Linked DNA regions of Homo sapiens: regions 1, 2 and 3 are each linked to region 4. The links are contacts of gene promoters, found by promoter capture Hi-C in human tissues and cell types (Jung and others, 2019). All regions are on one chromosome and are shown on one strand. Each heading gives the region's core, a stretch centred on a gene start or on the middle of the fragment in contact. The rest is flanking DNA. Distances are from core to core; before and after follow the strand shown.

Region 1 (3,306 bases), core at 79-2,578, 410 kb before region 4:
TTCTATAATTAGAAAACCCTAAAGATGCTGCCAAAAGGCTTCTTGAACTAATAAACGATTCCAGTAAAGTTTTAGGACACAAAATCAATGTGCAAAAATCAGTAGCATTTCTATACACCAATGATATTCAAGCTGAGAGCCAAATCAAGAACACAATCTCATTTACAATAGTTACACACACACAAAATAAAATACCTAGGAAAATATCTAAGGAGGTGAAGGATATCTAAAAGAATTACAAAATACTGCTGAAAGAAATCAGAGCTGACACACACAAACGGAAAAACATTCCATGTTCGTGGATTGGAAGAGTCAATATCATTAAAATGTCCATACTGCCCAAAGCAATCTAGAGATTTAGCACTATTCCTATCAAACTACTCACATCATTTTTCACAGAAATTGAAAATACTATTCTAAAATTTATATGGAACCAAAAAAGAGCAGTCCTAAGCAAAAAGAACAAAACTGGAGGCATCACATTACCCGACTTCAAACTACACTACAAGGCTACAAGATGGATTAAAGATTTAAATGTAAGACCTAAAACTATAAAAATTCTATAAGAAAACCTAGGATATACTCTGCTGGACATTGGCCTTGGCAAAGAATTTGTGACCAAGTCCTCAAAAGCAATTGCAACAAAAACAAAAATTGACAAGTGAGACCTAATTAAATTAAAAAGCTTGTGCAATGCAAAAGAAACTATCAACAGAGTAAACAGACAACCAACAGAATGGGAGAATATATTTGTAAACTATGCATCTGACAAAAAACTAATATCAAGAATTGTGATGGCTAATACTGAATGTCAACTTGATTGGATTGAAGGATGCAAAGTATTGGTACTGGGTATATCTGTGAGGGTGCTGACAAAGAAGATTAACATTTGAGTCAGTGGGTTGGGGAAGGCAGACCCACCCTTAATCTGGGTGGGCACCATCTAATCAGCTGCGAGCGAACATAAAGCAGGCAGAAAAACGTGAAGGGTTGAGGCTGGCCTACTCTCACAGCCTACATCTTCCTCCTGTGCTGGATGCTTCCTGCCCTCAAACATCGGACTCCAAATTCTTCAGTTGTGGAACTCAGACTGGCTCTCCTTGCTCCTCAGCCTGCAGACGGCCTATTGTGGGACCTTGTGATCATGTGAGTTAATACTTAATAAACTCCCCTTTATATATATATTTCATTAGTTCTGTCCCTCTAGAGAACCCTAATACAAGAATCTATGAGGAACTTAAAAAAAAAAAAAAAAGCAAGAAGAAAAACAAATAACCCCATTAAAAAGTGAGAAAAGGACATAGACACTTATCAAAAGAAGACATAAAAGCAGCCAACAAATAAAAAAGTACTCAACATCACTAATCATCAGAGAAATGCAAATAAAATCACAATGAGATACTATTTCATACCAGCCAGAATGGCTATTACTAAGAAGTCAAAAAATAGTAGATGTGGCAAGGTTGCGGGGAAAAAGGAATTACACACTGTTCTTGGGAATGTGAGTTCAGCCACTGAGGAAAGCTGAAGACTGAGCCACTGAGGAAAGTTTGAAGACTTCTCAAATAACTAAAAATAGACCTACCATTCAACCCAGCAATCCCATTACCATGTATAAACCCCCCCCAAAAAATCATTCTACCAAAAAGACACATGCCCTCATATCCAACACAGCACTATCCACAATAGCAAAGATATGGAACCAACCTGGGTGTCCATTAATGGTGAATTGGATAAAGAAAATGTGGTACATATACAGGATGAAATACTGTATATGTGCAGCCCACGGAGGGTGAGCTGAAGCAGGGTGTGGTGTTGCCTCACCCAGGAAGCGCAAGGGGTAGGGGAACTCCTTCCCCTAGCCAAGGGAAGCCATGAGGGACTATCCTGTGAGGAACGGTGTGCACTCTGGCCCAGATACTATGCTTTACCCATGGTCTTTGCAACCCACGGACCAGGAGATTCCCTCAGGTGCCTACACCACCAAGGCCCTGGGTTTCAAGCACAAAACTGGGTGGCTGTTTGGGCAGACACTGAGCTAGCTATAGGAGTTTTTTTCCATACCCCAGTGGCAACTGGAATGCCAGTGAGGCAGAACCATTCACTCCCCTGGAAAGGGGTCTGAAGCCAGGGAGGCGAATGGTCTAGCTCAGCATATTCCACCCCATAGAACCCAGCTAGCTAAGATCCACTGGCGTGAAATTCTCCCTGCCAGCACAGCAGTCTGAAGTTGACCTGGGACTCTAGAGCTTGGTGGGGGGAGGGGCATCCACCTTATTGAGGCTTGAGTAGGTGGTTTTTCCCTCACAGTGTAAACAAAGCCGCCAGGAAGTTCAGACTGGGCGGAGCCCACCACAGCGCCACAAGGCCACTGTAGCCAGACTGCCTCTCTAGATTCCTCCTCTCTGGGCAGGGCATCTCTGAAAGAAAGGCAGCAGCCTCCCTCAGGGGCTTATAGATAAAACTCCCTGGGACAGAGCACCTGGGAGAAGGGGTGGCTGTGGGCACAGCTTCAGCAGACTTAAATGTTCCTGCCTGCCAGCTCTGAAGAGAGCAGCGGATCTCCCAGCCAGTGCTTGAGCTCTGCTAAGGGACAGACTGCCTCCTCAGGTGGGTCCCTGACCCCCATGCCTCCCAGCAGGGGTTGACAGACACCTCATACAGGAGAGCTCCGGCTGGCATATGGCGGGTGCCCCTCTGGGACGAAGCTTCCTGAAGGAAAAACAGGCAGCAATCTTTGCTGTTCTGCAGCCTCCGCTGGTGATACCTAGGCAAACAGGGTCTGGAGTGGACCTCCAGCAAACTACGGCAGACCTGCAGCAGAGAAGCCTGACTGTTAGAAGGAAAACTAACAAACAGAAAGGAATAGCATCAACATCAACAAAAAGGACATCCACACAGAGACCCCATCCAAAGATCACCAACAGCAAAGACCAAAAGTAGATAAATCCACGAAGATGAGGAAAAAACAGTGCAAAAAGGTTGAAAATTCCAAAAACCAGAACGCCTCTTCTCCTCCAAAGGATCACAACTCCTCACCAGCAAGGGAACAAAAAACGCAGGGGTTGCAATCCTAGTCTCTGAAAAAAACAGACTTTAAACCAACAAAGATAAAAAAAAGACAAAGAAGGGCATTACATAATGGTAAAGGGATCAATGCAACAAGAAGAGCTAACTATCCTAAATACATATGCACCCAATACAGGAGCACCCAGGTTCATAAACCAAGTTCTTGAGACCTACAAAGAGACTTAGACTGCCACACAATAACAGTGGGAGACTTTATCACCCCACTGTCAATATTAA
Region 2 (2,988 bases), core at 225-2,724, 460 kb before region 4:
GAGAACTGACATTCAGCAAGGTTAAACAGGTTGCATAGATATTATGTATATTCACAGTACCTAAGTTTATAAAAATGTCAGTAATGCAAATTGTATTCACAAGGGAAAAGATGAAAAGTCTTTCCTTATTCTGCTGAATAATCCAGTTTACTACTTTTTTACTTTTTACTTTTTTAAAAAAACTTTTTTAGTACTACCATGAATGCATGCATACATACCTATGTATATTATACCCACACATCAATTTTTTTAACCTTTTCTAATCCCAGGTCTCTGTCAGTGGAATCGAATGGGATTATATTGCCACACAGGGACCATTACAGAATACCTGTCAAGATTTTTGGCAGATGGTATGGGAACAGGGAATTGCAATTATAGCAATGGTGACAGCAGAAGAGGTAGGTACTTATTTCTCTTAAGTGATTTTCTCAGCCTCTGAAGAACAGTTAATGTTAATCATCTGGAATCCTGACCTGTGGAGAAAAAGGCAGGGTAGGGTTGTGGTTCTGTTTCAGATGTGCCGTCTATGTGAGAAAGGCATCCATTGCCGGATCTCGAGTCATTTAACCATGCTCATCTTTAACAGGAGGGTGGAAGGGAGAAGAGCTTTAGGTACTGGCCACGACTTGGTTCCAGGCACAACACTGTCACCTATGGAAGGTTTAAGATCACGACCCGGTTCCGCACAGACTCTGGCTGCTATGCCACCACAGGCCTGAAGATGAAGCACCTCCTTACTGGGCAAGAGAGGACCGTCTGGCACCTCCAATACACAGACTGGCCTGAACATGGCTGTCCAGAAGACCTCAAGGGATTTTTATGTGAGTGACTTTAACTTTGTTCCGAGGACAGCTGCCTCTGGAGGTGTTAAACAGAGAGGAACATTTATGTTTCCGAAATATTTCCTTTATGTTATCTCATATAAGCTTCGGACTTGTTTTAACATAAAGAATACAAGTGTTTTGGGGAGGGTTAACGAGGTTTATAAATTATGATTTGGTAGTGAGTAGAATGCCACAGCTGACTCAGTATCTCCGTCATTTCATTTTGTAGATCAGAAAGTGGACAGAGGTAGTGACTTGCTCAGGGTCACACTGTCCCTTTGTGGTTGGGTTTGGTTCACTGGCACCCAGTGCTCTTTATCTGCAGTCCTCTTAATCAGTGGAGAGAATATGAAGATTGAGTCAACAATGTGATACGCCTTGATCCTTGAGTACTTTTCTATTTCATTGATTTTCCACAGCATATCTTGAAGAGATCCAGTCTGTTCGACGCCATACAAATAGCACAAGTGATCCCCAAAGCCCCAACCCTCCGTTGTTGGTCCACTGCAGTGCTGGGGTAGGAAGGACTGGCGTGGTGATTTTGTCGGAGATCATGATCGCCTGCCTGGAACACAATGAGGTGATGGCGCTTATGATCACCTGGCCTTTTTGGGTGGAAATGAGGCTGGGGAAGAGAGGGACATAGTGACTTAATAGCTCTTTTTGCGCACATTTCCTTGGACTGTGGTGGCCTCAAGATGTTACTAATGTTCCCTGCAAAAGGCTGTGTCTTCTTGGAGAGTCTCAGTACCAATTAGCATATTAAAGACTAAGAAGTCATACGATAAATAAAGCTGTTTAATTTTGTTTTACTTGCCCAGGGTTTTTCAAATTTGAGCTCAGAATTCTTTTTCTGTTTACATTTCAAGGATGATTCATGCTGCCCAGAGCCCTTGAGGGAAATAGCTAGATACTGATAGCACTTAGCACACTATGTTTTTGTATAATTTTGGTATTTAGTGAGACATGGTAATTATGTCCAACCATACAAAGTCAGTGAGCTACACCTGGGGAATGTTGAAGAAATAGTCTGCATGGACATTCTATTTATAGCTAAAACTAATCAGAAAATCAGAAGTAGGCAATCATGGCTTATTTCTAGAAGACGCTAAGGTGGAAAAGAGACTGTCCATCTCCCAACCAGGTTTCTGCCAGGACACTCGTGTCCTCCCATCCTTTCTGTCTCCCCAGGGGAACACATTATCTTCATTACCGTTTCTCTCAACCTAGGTGCTGGACATCCCGAGAGTGCTGGACATGCTGAGGCAACAGAGAATGATGCTGGTGCAGACTCTCTGCCAGTACACATTTGTGTACAGAGTCCTCATCCAGTTCCTGAAAAGCTCCAGGCTCATCTAAGCTCCCACAATTTCTTACGGGGCCAGTCATGTGAAGCGTTTACAGCTTAAAAAAAAAGCGCTTGCCTAACTCATACTTTCCCGTTGACACTTGATCCACGCAGCGTGGCACTGGGACGTAAGTGGCGCAGTCTGAATGGCGGCACGCTGAAGGAAACGTGCGAAGCACAGGCTGAAGAGGGGTTTCTAACCTGGGAAAGGTGCTCAAGGAGGACTTGGTTTCAAGGGCCTTGCCCTGCCCCGGTCTGTCCGGTTTGCAGTACTTGCACACATTTTGGAGATTGTATTTTCTAGACAATTCTCTATTTTACTGAAGCTATGCTGGGCAATTCTGGCAATCATTAAAGTGCATAGATTTCTATCTTAAACTAATTTTTGATAATGGAGTTTTTATTTTATGACAAATATTTAGGGATTTTTCTAGTGAGAAACAACTTTGTGTAAGGATGATCCACAGATATGAGTTGCTCCTATATAACTTTGTATTTAAAAATCATGTTATTATCTTTTGTTATTTTTTAAAAACCTTGGGTACTTAATAATGGTTTAGTTGCCAAACTGAAAACTATACTGAGAATCTGTGTTATTTTGAAACATCAAAAGGATTTTTCTATCCAGAACATTTTTTATCCTAAAAATTCTATATAGTTGTACCTTCTGTTTTTCAAATGAGAGCTCAATTCATTTAGATACTGAAATGAGTCAGTTAATGTAAAGTTGAGGATGAAGGCACATTATTTAAAATGTAAGAGAATAAGCATTATTTTTTCAGTATTATTCATAGATCTAAATGAATTTGATTTTAT
Region 3 (3,274 bases), core at 561-3,060, 360 kb before region 4:
CTTTGTCCAATTTTGTTCCTTTGCTGGCAAAGAGTTGTGATCTTTTGGAGGAGAAGAGGCATTCTGGTTTTTGGAATTTTCAGCCCTTTTGCAGTGGTTTTTCCTCATCTTCATAGATTTATCTACCTTTAGTCTTTGCTGTCGGTGACCTTCGCATGGGGTTTTTCAGTGGTCGTTCTTTTTGTTGATGTTGACGCTATTGCTTTCTTTGTATTAGTTTTCCTTCTAACGGTCAGTCCCCTCTTCTGCAGGCCTTCTGGAGTTTTCTGGAGGTCCACTCCAGATCTTGTTTGCCTGGGTATCACCAGTGGAGGCTGCAGAACAGCAAAGATTGCTGCCTTCTCCTTCCTCTGGAAGCTTTGTCCCAGAGGGGCACCTGCCAGATGCCAGCTGGAGCTCTCCTGTATGAGGTGTCTGTTGACCCCTGCTGGAAGGTGTCTCTCTGTCAGGAGGCACTAGGATTAGGGACCCACTTGAGAAGGCAGTCTGTCCCTTAGCAGAGCTCAAGTGCTGTGCTGGGAGATCTGCTGCTCGCTTCAGAGCTGGCAGACAGGAATGTTGAAGTCTGTTGAAGCTGTGCCCACAACCGCCTCTTCCCTCAGTTGCTCTGTCCCAGGGAGATGGGAGTTTTATCTATAAGCCCCTGACTGAGGCTGCTGCCTTTTGTTCAGAGATGCCTTATCCAGAGAGGAGGAATCCAGAGAGGCAGTCTGCTGCAGTGGCTTTTTGGCATTGTGGTGGGCTCTGCCCAGTCCGAACTTCCTGGCAGCTTTGTTTACACTGTGAGGGGCAAACCACCTACTTAAGCCTCAGTAATGGCAGATGCCCCTCCCCTCATCAAGCTGGAGCATCCCAGGTCGACTTTAGACTGCTGTGCTGGCAGGGAGAATTTCAAGCCAGTGGATCTTAGCTTGTTGGGCTCTGTAGGATGGGATATGCTGAGCAAGACCACTTGCCTCCCTGGCTTCAGCCCCTTTTCCAGAGGAGTGAACGGTTCTGTCTCGCTGGCATTCCAGGCACCACTGCGGTACAAAAACAAAACAAAACAAACAAAAAAAAAAACTCCTGCAGCTAGCTCAGTGTCTGCCCAAATGGCCACCCAGTTTTGTGCTTGAAACCCAGGGCCCTGGTGGTATAGGCACCCAAGGGAATCTCCTGGTCTGTGGGTTGTGAAGACCATGGGAAAAGCGTTGTATCTGGGCTTGATAGCACTGTCCCTCACAGCAGAGTCCCTCATGGCTTCCCTTGGTCAGGGGAGGAAGTTCTCCAACCTCTTGTGCTCCCTGGATGAGGCAATGCCCCATCTTTCTTCTGCTTGCTCTCTGTGGGCTGCACCCACAGTCTAACCAGTTCCAATGAGATGAACTGGGTACTTCAGTTGGAAATGCAGAAATCACCCACCTTCTGCATTGGTCTGGCTGGAAGCTGCAGACTGGAGCTGTTCCTATTTGGCCATCTTGCCAATCATCTGTCTAGTACTTACAGGCTAATTTTTGCAAGTCAATATTACAATAGCTTATAAATACCAATTACAATAGCTACAAATAAAATACAATATCTAGCAATTAATTTATCCAAAGAACTGAAAGATCTCTGTAGTGAAAACTATAAAAGAAATTGATGAAAGAAATTGAGGAGGACATGAGAAAATGAAAAGATATTCCATGTTCATGGATTGGAAAAATTGATGTTGTTAAAATGTCTATACTACCGAAAACAATCTACAGATTCAATACAATCTCTATCAAAATACCAATGACATTCTTCACATAAATGAAAAAACGATCCTAAAATGTATATGCAACCACAAAAGACCCAGAATAGCCAGAGCTATCCTAAGCAAAAAGAGCAAAACTGGAGCAATCATATAATCTGACTTCAAATTATACTACAGAGCTATAGTAACCAAAATAGCATGATTCTGGCATAAAAACAGACACATAGACTGGTGGAACAGAATGAAGAGCCCAGAAATAAATCCATACGTTTATGCTAACTCATTTTCAACAAAGGTTTCAAGAACACGCATTGGGAAATTGACAGTCTCTTCAATAAATGGTTCTGGGAAAACAGGTTATCCATATGCAGAAACTAAACATCTATCTCTCACCATATAACAAAATCAAGTCAAAATGCATTTAAGTAATAAATCTAACACCTCAAACTATGAAACTACTACAAGAAAACATTGGGGAAACACCAGGACATTGGTCTGGGCAAAGACTTTTTGGGCAATACCCCATTAGCACAGGCAACCAAAGCAAATATAGACAAATGGGATTACATCAAGTTATAAAGCTTCTGCACAGCAAAGGAAAAAATAAAGTGAAGAGACAACCCACAGAATGGGAGAAAAGATTTGCACACTATTCCTCTGACAACGGATTAACAACTAGAATATCTAAGGAGTTCAAACAACTCAATAAGAAAGAAAAATCTAATAAACTAATTAAAAAGTGTGCAGAATATCTGAATAGGCATTTCTCAAAAGAAGACATACAAATGGCAAACAGGTATATGAAAGTATACTCTGGGCAAAGATTTCATCAAAGACACTAGAAGCAATTGCAACAAAAGCAAAAATTGACAAAAGTAATCTAATTAAAGAGCTTCTGCACAGCAAAAGAAATTATCAACAGGGTAAACAAGCAACCTACAGAATGACAGGAAATTTTTGCAAACTATGCATCTGACAAAGATCTAGTATTCAGCATCTATTAGAAATTTAAACAAATTTACAAGAAAAAAACAAAGAACCTCATTAAAAAGTGGGCAAAAGACATGAACAGATACTTCTCAAAAGAAGGCATTCATGTGGTCAACAAGCATATGAAAAAAATCTCAACATCACTGATCATTAGAGAAATGCAAATCAATTCAAAACCACAATGAGATAACATCTCACACCAGTCAGAATGGTGATTATTAGAAAGTCAAAAAATAACAGATGCCAGTGAGGTTGTAGAGAAAAAGGAACACTTGTACACTGTTGGTGGGAGTGTAAATGAGTTCAACCATTCTGGAAGACAGTGTGGAGATTCCTCAAAGATCTAAAGTCAGAAACACCATTCAACCCAGCAATATCATTACTAGGTATATACCCAAAGGAATATAAGTCATTCTATTATAAAGATACATGCATGCATATGTTTATTGCAGCACTATTCATGATAGCAAAGAGATGGAATCAACCCAAATGCCTATCAGTGATAGACTGTATAAAGAATGTGGACATGTACACCATGGAATACTATGCAGCCATAAAAAAGAACAA
Region 4 (2,899 bases), core at 129-2,628:
AGACAGGATGGGTTGATGAAGCAGAGGCCCTCTTCTTTGTAGTGACGCAGAGGCAGTACAGGCTTGTGGTTAAGAGCGTGGGCTCTGGAGACAATTCGAATGCCTCTCAACAGCACTCTGGGCCCATTGGTGTTTCTTCACCTCTCTAAGTTCCAGTTTTCACATGTGTAAGTTAGTACCCAGTTTCTAAGATTGTTGTGAGGGTTAAATGAAACGACATATGAAGCAAAGTTCCTAGCACATGGGAGGCATTCACTGTACGTTAGCTGGTAATATTGTTTTAATGACATTGGTAGTCTGCACCAATCTTTGTGCTGTCCCCTACATTTTCTGAAAAGAAATCATCTTTAGTCATCTAGCCACAGCATAGCAGAAAAGCTGGAGGTGCTCAGAGTGTAATTTATATGGTAACACTTCACGTATAATACTAGGCTCTGCAGATAATAGTTGTTCATTTAATTTGGGTGGATCTGAGATTTTAGTGGAATACTGTATATAATTCCTATTACAGTATTCACATATCTTTTCAGATATTATTTTGCCTCCTTTAATCAAATTTTGAGAAAATTGTTTTTAGAACAAGCACTGAGAAATTTTGGTGAGTTTTTAATTTTTTAATTTTTACCAGATGTCAAAAAAGACAATCTACAGTATATTAAAGTATATCTATTCTTGAACAGATCTAAAAATAGTACAAATCATTGATGACGATGACCAAAAGTACAATATTTTCCTACAGTGTTATAGAAAATGCTTGCTTTCATCTATCAGTTTAATAGTTACTTATTAAGACTCTACTATATATTTCAGGCACTGTGGTAGTCACTTATTAACTAATAATTATTACTTGACATTTATTAATACTGGAAATATTCTTTCCTAATATCACATTTTTTTCTGATGGATATAAAAAGTATTTACTGGACCATTGTACAGATGAGGGATTGGTGCCAGATAGCTCTAAAGCCAGGGGCTGGTAGGCTTCTTCCTAATACTGAATGAAGTTTGCCAAAGCACTGTTTCCTGAAAAGAAAATAAAGTATGAACAACCCCCTTTTTCTATATCTATGGTTTTGCCTAATTAGTTCTAAATTTAAAGTTTGGCCCTTTACCACTGCTCAAAGTAGAGGAAACCATGTGTCTTCCTCATTTCTTTCTCTCTTATCATGCTTTGCATTACCACATTTATACAGCCTAAACCAGGAAGAATGTTGCGAACATCACTGACAATTATGCCAAAGCATGTTATCTACTTTAAAATATTATTTTATTTTTTAATCTTATACTTACCCATATTTCTTCCGGTGATGTGTTTGTTGACTGAGGAGCTTGATAAATCTGTGCCTGCATCAAGTCAAGAAGAGAAACCAACACTGCTGAGGGGACAGGAAATTGCACTCATATTTCAGCACAAACCAATGAGGAAGCAGCATCTCAATGAGAAGGGTGTGCGTTATCCAAGTTTGAACAAAAAAAGTCTCTTAAATACTTTTAAAGATGTTTTTATTTATTGTTTACTGTACTGTAATTTTTATAACTCACTTGTCTCATTGCATCTTAATTACAAGTATGTACTGATATTATATTATATGCCCTTTACTTAATGGAATATATGTTAAATATTTTATTTATTTCTTTGTTCATTCATTCATTCATTCATTCATTCACTCATCATGCCAGCAGTGTGCGGGGAGATGTATACGAACTGGCTATCAACCAAAAGCAGCTTTTTTTACCTAGTAAAGGAGAAAGACATGTTTAATAATGATTGTAATGCAATGGCAAAATGAAGAAGTACTTCAAGAGGGGTACAGATAAAATAGAATGAACCATTTGGATGTGTGAGATAGGGGAGGATATTGTAGGTAGATTCAGGGTGATAAAGTTCCTGGGACAAAAACAGAAAAGGGAGAATTGAGGCTGAGGGGTTTAATGATGGATATTGTGCTGCTTAAGGCAGGGGTTAAGGTAGCCAACCTCATACCGTCTTTCTTTTCTTTTTTTTTTTGAGAGACTAATGGGATTAGATATATAGTATTTGATTGTAGAACTATTTTCTCCTTTGATTCTCTCCTCTTGGAAACAGAGATGGCTAAAAACCAGTTGAATTAACTAGCTGAGACAAATAATTTTATGAAACTTGAAAATTTTATTTAAGACTTACATTGTTATTATAAAAACTCTTGTACTTTAGCAAGTTAAAGTTAATGCCAAATCTATAAGTGGTTTAATATGAAGTGAAATTAGCTCCTATAACTTTCTTACTATTGATATATAAAAAAGTCAGAAATATCACTTTTGAATCTTGCCCTCATAAACTTTTATTAGAAATGAAGGGAAAATATTATTTGAAAGAACAGAATTTATTTGGGATGAAAACATTTGACTTAATTTTAAAGATGTAATCAGGACATTTTGAATCTGTGTTTGTTAAAGGACATTAAGGGTTGTTGCTGGTGTTTTTTTTTTGTTGTTTTTTTCTCCCTACCCAGAGATAGAAAAGATTAGCCTGTATATAAGCAAGGCTTTCCATATTGAAGTTGATCAGGGTATATCAGGAATGTAAAGATTTTCAATACTTCCGTTGTAGGTCTTTCTTTGAGAATAATAAAACTAATACCTTACATTTATAAAGCACAGGATAGTTTATAAAGTAATTTAGCATATAGTAAATTATAAATCAATATATTGTTACTGAAATAATAAAAATTAAGTATAAAGTAAAAAATTAACAATAAATGTCTTGAAGTTTTACAAAAATGAAAAGTAACGATTTCAGTTTACTTGTGACTGTAATTCAAAGTTCTCATTTTTGCTTGGTTTCGTACATCTGCTTATCTGTGGTTTCTATACATGATATATCTTTTTTTAAGTTCGGGGTACAAGTGCATTGTTACGT

Evidence for each region. Contacts are between HindIII fragments. The study calls those that stand out against the background at their distance.
Region 1: a fragment that was not itself captured here is called in contact with the fragment with the promoter of GPR65 in region 4 in 2 of the 25 tissues and cell types used here (H1 embryonic stem cells and dorsolateral prefrontal cortex).
Region 2: a fragment that was not itself captured here is called in contact with the fragment with the promoter of GPR65 in region 4 in 1 of the 25 tissues and cell types used here (mesenchymal stem cells).
Region 3: a contact is called between a fragment that was not itself captured here and the fragment with the promoter of GPR65 in region 4, in 4 of the 25 tissues and cell types used here (aorta, bladder, dorsolateral prefrontal cortex and 1 more).

Annotation. Positions count from the first base shown.
Region 1 is chr14:88,410,172-88,413,477 of GRCh38, reverse strand. The region is part of intron 4 of SPATA7 (spermatogenesis associated 7); the gene reads right to left. Among named protein-coding and RNA genes, the nearest start is that of SPATA7, 26 kb to the right of the region's middle. The HindIII fragment of the contact is 4,550 bases long and covers 1-3,306 here.
Region 2 is chr14:88,467,332-88,470,319 of GRCh38, reverse strand. It overlaps PTPN21 (protein tyrosine phosphatase non-receptor type 21), which reads left to right. Exons shown (of 19, transcript NM_007039.4): 16 at 270-398; 17 at 587-821; 18 at 1,244-1,404; 19 at 2,055-2,988. The coding sequence ends at 2,183. It also overlaps a transcript of SPATA7 not described here. Among named protein-coding and RNA genes, the nearest start is that of SPATA7, 83 kb to the right of the region's middle. The HindIII fragment of the contact is 3,373 bases long and covers 1-2,988 here.
Region 3 is chr14:88,367,742-88,371,015 of GRCh38, reverse strand. No RefSeq gene overlaps it. Among named protein-coding and RNA genes, the nearest start is that of SPATA7, 16 kb to the left of the region's middle. The HindIII fragment of the contact is 5,913 bases long and covers 1-3,274 here.
Region 4 is chr14:88,003,614-88,006,512 of GRCh38, reverse strand. GPR65 (G protein-coupled receptor 65) reads right to left here and starts at 1,378. Exons shown (of 2, transcript NM_003608.4): 1 at 1,291-1,378. RefSeq lists an enhancer at 794-963. The HindIII fragment of the contact is 6,432 bases long and covers 1-2,899 here.